Linked DNA regions of Homo sapiens: region 1 is linked to region 2. Evidence: promoter capture Hi-C in human tissues and cell types (Jung and others, 2019). All regions are on one chromosome and are shown on one strand. The core of a region is centred on a gene start or on the middle of the fragment in contact, and the rest is flanking DNA. Distances in the headings are between cores, read along the strand shown. Region 1 holds the start of RFXANK (regulatory factor X associated ankyrin containing protein). Region 2 holds the start of FKBP8 (FKBP prolyl isomerase 8).

Evidence for each region. Contacts are between HindIII fragments. The study calls those that stand out against the background at their distance.
Region 1: a contact is called between the fragment with the promoter of RFXANK here and the fragment with the promoter of FKBP8 in region 2, in 1 of the 25 tissues and cell types used here (lymphoblastoid cells).

What each region holds. Positions count from the first base shown.
Region 1 is chr19:19,190,765-19,193,936 of GRCh38, forward strand. It overlaps RFXANK (regulatory factor X associated ankyrin containing protein), which reads left to right and starts at 1,494. Exons shown (of 10, transcript NM_003721.4): 1 at 1,494-1,790; 2 at 2,196-2,336. BORCS8-MEF2B (BORCS8-MEF2B readthrough) reads right to left here and starts at 1,388. Exons shown (of 12, transcript NR_027308.2): 1 at 1,317-1,388. BORCS8 (BLOC-1 related complex subunit 8) reads right to left here and starts at 1,388. Exons shown (of 6, transcript NM_001145784.2): 1 at 1,317-1,388. The coding sequence starts at 1,353. RefSeq lists an enhancer at 2,271-2,360. The HindIII fragment of the contact is 21,341 bases long and covers 1-3,172 here.
Region 2 is chr19:18,542,323-18,545,065 of GRCh38, forward strand. It overlaps FKBP8 (FKBP prolyl isomerase 8), which reads right to left and starts at 1,251. Exons shown (of 9, transcript NM_012181.5): 1 at 1,164-1,251. RefSeq lists a silencer at 1,067-1,496. The HindIII fragment of the contact is 12,332 bases long and covers 1-2,743 here.

The sequences.
Region 1 (3,172 bases), core at 244-2,743, 650 kb after region 2:
GCAACAAGAGCAAAACTCCGTCTCAAATAAAAAAAAAGAAGAAGAAAGGTGAGCATAACAGACAAGGCACGGTGGCTCATGCCTCATACTCATGCCCTCCGTTATCCATGGTTCCCGAATCTGTGGATTCAACCAACCGTGGATGGAAAATAGGAAAAAAAAAATTCCACAAAGTTTCAAAAAGCAAAACTTCAATCTGCCCTACACGAAGCACTTCTTTGAATCCATGTGAATGAAGTGATGTGTAGGCCTGTATTATGTATTCTAGATGTGAGTAATCTAGGGTGATTTAAAGTATAGGGGATTAGCTGGGTGCAGTGGTTCACACCTGTAATCCCAGCACTTTGGGAGGCCAAGGTGGGTGGATCACTCGAGGTCAGGAGTTCGAGACTAGCCTGAGCAACAAGGTGAAACCCCGTCTCTACTAAAAATACAAAAAAATTAGCTGGGCATGGGGGTGTGTGCCTGTAATCCTAGCTACTCAGGGGGCTGAGGTTGCAGTGAGCTGAGATCCCCCCACGGCACTCCAGCCTGGGTGACAGAGCGAGACTCCGTCAAAAAAAAAAAAAATTAAAGAATTAGCCTGATGTGGTGGTGTGCACTTGTAGTCCCAGCTACTGGAGAAGCTGAGGCAAGAGGATCGCCCGCGCCAGAGAGATCGAGGCTACAGTGAGCCATGATCGCGCCACCGCACCCCAGCCTGGGCGACAGTGTGATACCTTGTCTCAAAAAAAAAAAAAAAAAAGGAAACAAGACGCACAGCGATTACTACGCCCCGGGGATTCTTCCAATGCATTACAAATATCAGGTTGTTGAGTTTTTTTTTTTTAGACAGGGTCTCACTTGTCACCCAGGCTGGGGGTGCAGTGGCACGACCGTAGCCCACTGCAGTGCAGCCTTGACCTCCCGGGCTCAAGCAATCCTCCCACCTTAGCCGCCCAAGTAGCTGGGACCACAGGCGTGCGCCACCACGCCCGGCTAATTTTTGTATTTTTTTAGAGACGAGATCTCACTATGTCACCTAGGCTGGTCTCGGGCTCAAGCGATCCTCCCGCCTAGGCCTCCCAAAGTGCTGGGATTACAAAGCCACCACTCCCAGCCTCAGCTACTGAATTCTTGAAACAATCCTGGGGGGACCGGTAATTAAAGCAGACACGGAGCCTTTCTACAGGTTTCAAAACTAGTCAGCGGCAGAGCTGGGATTGGACGGCAGTTCAATCACTGCTCCTCGCACGGTCCCTCCGCGCCCGGCCTTTGTCAGGCCGCCCCTCCACAAGTTACCGGCCCCCTCTGTCCCGCCCGCAGGCCCGCACCACCTTTCTTCCCCTTGAGCTGCATCTCCGGCTCCTCCATAGCGACCGCGGCCGAGCGAACCGGGAAACGGCACCGGAAGCCCGGAGGTTGGGACGCCCGCCTAAGCCTTCCCTGCTGAAACCGGACGCCGCACGGCTCCTGTTCCGGTGTCAGAGGGCCCGCCCTCCCCGCTCCTCAGTCTTTGCGGACAAGAAAGGGGCTGTGTGAGACGCAGGGAAGGAGGCACACCCGGGGGTGGCGCAGTGAGGAGGGGGCGCGACGGCCAGGAGGCTGGTGGAGCGACACCCAGGCAGGAGAGGGGGAAGAACTCTCTCCCTTTCTGAACCCCCTTTTCCTTGAGAGACGAGTTGGGGGAGTCCTCCACGCATTACCCACTCGGGCCGCAAAAACTCCCTTCTTTAGCCCTCTGCCCCCGCCCTTGCTTATAAGCCTTTGAGACCGCAGAAGGGACCTTGTTGTGGAACGGGACGGCCAAGGTACGCTGCCCCTTTAAGTTCCAGACGCCCCGCGTACTTCCCCTACTTCTTCTTCTTGAGATAGCCCCGCCCATCTACCCGAAGCCGGAGCCAATTGGCTCCCTCTGGAAAAATCTGTGGGCAGGGTAAAGGTGAGCGGGCGCAGGCGTAGTGAAATTCTCAGAGCCCTTTAGGCCCCGCCCATTCCCTCCGAGTCGGTGAGGAGGGGAAAAGAAGGCGCAGGCGCAACTGCCCTCCCAGGACCCCAGCGGAACCCACGCCCTCCCCTAAGTCTTAAAGGGCCAGAGGCAGCACTTACTGCCCGGGCCCTTCCTCACTTTTGGGGGGCGGGGGTGCGCAAGCGCAGTGGGGGAGCTCTGGGGTGGGGGTAGCGGTCGAGTATCAAGTTGCTTTCTGTCCCGGCAGAGGAAGCCAGATCGCTGAGGGTCCGGTCTCCAGTTTGCCTCCTGCTATATCCATTGGAAGAGAAAAGTTTGTGACTTGGGCCCCCAAGTTTTGAGAGAACTGGGCTTTCGGCGCGGGGGGACAGAGGAGGCTCGTGGGGAGGTGAGTGGACCTCCTGGATCGATTTAGGAGGCTCGGGTGGGACTGGGACCAATCGCACCTTTGTTGAGCCGTCACTCATTATGGGGAGCCCCTCCCAACAACCATAGCGAATATTTATTGAGCTCCACGCTTAGCAGATCCCCCGATAAGCTATGTACAGACATAATTCGTTGTAGGTCTCATTTCCACATTTTGTCGTGGAGGAAACTGAGGCTCAAAGGTTAAGTCACGTGCCCAAGTTCTCACGGCCTATAAATTGAGGGATTCGAACCCAGACAGCTGACCCCAGAGCCCCGGCTTTTTTTTCCTTTCTTTTTTTTTTTTTTTTTTTTTTTTGAGACAGAGTCTTGCTCTGTCGCCCCAGCTACAGTGCAGTGGTGCGATCTCTGCTCACCGCAACCTCCACCTCCCGAGTTCAAGCAATTCTGCCTCAGCCTCCCGAGTAGCTGGGATCACAGGCGCCCGCCACCGCGCTTGGCTAATTTTTGTATTTTTAGTACAGATGGGGTTTCACCATGGTGGCCAGCCTGGTCTCGAACTCCTGACCTCATGATCCACCCTCCTCGGCCTCCCAAAGTGCTGGGATTACAGCCGTGAGCCACTGTGCCCTGCCAGAGCCCAGGCTCTTAAACATTGCACATTGTAGGTGCTTTGGTGGTGGGGAATGGTAGACCTCGAAAGCAGTTGGACTCTGGTTTTCATTTCCCTGGCTCTGGTAATTAACCTGGACCTCAGTTTACCCACCCTCACAGTGCAAGGCTAGGTATGCAGTCGGTGCCTACTTTATTATAACTGTTGATAATTATTGTCATCTCTCCCCTTCTGACACCTCCGCC
Region 2 (2,743 bases), core at 1-2,500:
TGCCCAAGGTCACAGAGAAAGCCAAAGGCCAAAGGAGGATTTGAACCTGGGGCTTCAGGCCCTGTGGCTTTGCCTGATTATAAGCTGAGCGAAGGGTGCTGGGATTTTTGTGGAGAGGACAGCCTCCGAGGCCTTAGGGAAGCCATTTTTAGAGCCTCTAAGGCCACTGGGGGAAATTGAATCTTTTACCAGGGCCTCCCACCTCCAGCCTCTTCTCCAAAGGGGAGACCCTCCCCAAAAGCACCAACTGTAATCACCCAGAAACCCCAAGCGTTTTTTCCTTCCACACTCTGAATCTAACACTATCCCCCACAACCCCAACATCAGGGACCCTGGCCCAAATCCTTCCCCAGGAGACCATCCTCCTCTCATCAGGCCTCGGTCCCACCCCCTCAAAGCAGCCTCCTTTCCAGGAGTGGTCGAGGTCCCACCACATTCTACAGCCTCTTCCTTGCCCCAGACCTCCTGAACCAATAACCAACCCCTCCGTCCCCCAGGCCCCAAGCTCAGAAGAGTGTGGCACAGCCATCAAACCAGCCCGCCGCATCCCCTCCCTAACCCTCACCTGCCTGCTCCTCCCGGGCTCGGAGCCCCACTTTGAGAGACCCTCCCAGCCCCCACCCCCATAATTCCCCGCGCCCGCACAATTCGGCCTCCCCTCCCACCCCCCACCCCAACCACCACCGCCCCCAGCACGGGCCAGCTCCCCCCACAGCCGCTCCGTCTCGCCGTAAACACTCCAGTGTCCCCAGACGCCCCCCCCTTTCCGATCCCATAACACCCCACGCTCTCCTGACGCCCCACAGCCCCGGCCGGGCCCTCAGTCAAGCCGCGACCCAGGCCCCCAACGACCCACGCCTGTCTGACGCCACCAGTCTGGGGCACCCGACCCCCGCACGCCTCGGGCGCCCCTGGCCCTGCACGCCTCCATCGGGACCCCCCCACTGGATCCCCTTTGCCCCCAGTGACCCCCATCCCTGGCCACCCCCGCCCGGCCGCGCCCCCTCGGGCACCCCCGACCCCCGTGCCCCCCCGGCTCGCCACCCCCGCGGCCCCTCGCCCCGCCCATCGGCCGCAGCCCCCGGCGCGCTAGCCCCCGGACCAGCCTAGGCCAGGGCAGCGGCCCGGCCGGCACGGCGCCCCCAGCACCCCAGGACACTTGCCTCTGGCTCCGGGACCCCCACTTGGGGTCCTGCGCCCCCCTCCCCGCCCCCAGCCGCGGCCGCCGCGCCTCGGGAACCAGGTTCGGCCGCTTGGCCCCGCCCCTGCCGTGCCCATTGGCCGCCGCTGCCGCGACTGCCGCACCCGTTGGCTCATGCAGACGTCCGTCCCGGGCGTTGGCACCTCCCCCTTCCTGCTTGGCCCCGCGGGGCGTTCTTAAAGGGACCGAAGCCTCCCGGCTGCTGGGGCTGGGGCGGGGGCTGGGGCGGGGGCTGGGGCGGGGGCTGGGGCGGGGGCGGGGGACCCTGGGCTGGACCCCAACACGGGTCAGTATCGCGCAGCCTGTGCGACTCCTGCCTCTCCTCTGAGCTTCATCCTGACCATCTGCGAAATGGGGATAAACACCCCCATCTATGCACTCTCACCTTGGGGGCTGCTGGGGGCACAGTCCACTCTAAATGTTATTTCCTTAAAGAGTTCAAGCTTGACGGGCAGGGCAGCTCTGGGGTTGCTGAATGACCCATCCTGAAGCCTTAGTTACAGAAGTGAACCTGAGGGCCTGAGGAGGAGTGACGTGCCCAAAGGCATACAGAAACCTCCCTCCCATCCCCCACACAGTTTAATGTCTAGAAGGTTGCCTGGTGCATACTGGAGGCGCTCGATTACTGCTGCGCAGGCGACTGAGCCAGCAGGGCCACTGGGAGGAGTTCCTCCTCTATGCACTGTCTGCTGGAGGGTGATAAGGTCCCCATGGCTCGGGAAGAAGGTGGCATCCTTGATTAGCTAAGTTTTTGTGGATCTTGTTTTGAAACCGGGACACTTCTCCCTCCTTCACTCAGTTTTATTTCCTTCCTAGCAGTTACTCCTTCCAGAATTATCTTGTCATTATTTTGCTTGTGGTTGGAGGGACCATCCCTCACTCTGCTTCATCCTGGCAGAGATTTTTACCTGATTTGTACCCAGCACCTCCTTGAACCATGCCTGGCATCTATAGAAGCTCAATAAATGGGTAGGTGGATGGATGGATGGATGGATGGATGGATGGATGGATGGATGAGTCAGACACCAGCTTTTGGAGGTAGCTATCATGGAGGTGGTAACTGGCTTTTTGGAGATCACTTCTAAGGTTGGAGTTCCCAGGTTACCTCCTACAGGAAGCCCTCCCAACCTCCCCAAGGCAAGACCAGGTGCCCCCTTTAGCTGTCTTGGCACAATGAAGTTGATGAACGTCCACTTCATAACTAGTTTACTTGGGTTTTTTGTTTGTTTGTTTGTTTTTGTTTTTTGAGAAGAAGTTTCACTCTTGTTGCCCAAGCTGGAGTGCAATGGCGCAATCTCAGCTCACCGCAACCGCTGCCTCCCAGGTTCAAGCGATTCTCCTGCCTCAGCCTTCCAAGTAGCTGGGAGTAGAGGCATGCACCACCATGCCTGGCTAACTTTGTATTTTTAGTAGACACGGGATTTCTTCATGTTGGTCAGGCTGGTCTCAAACTCCCGACCTCACGTGATCCGCCCACCTCGATGTACCAAAGATTACAGGCATGAGCCATCGTGCCTGGCCTTTTTTTTTTTTTTCTTTCTC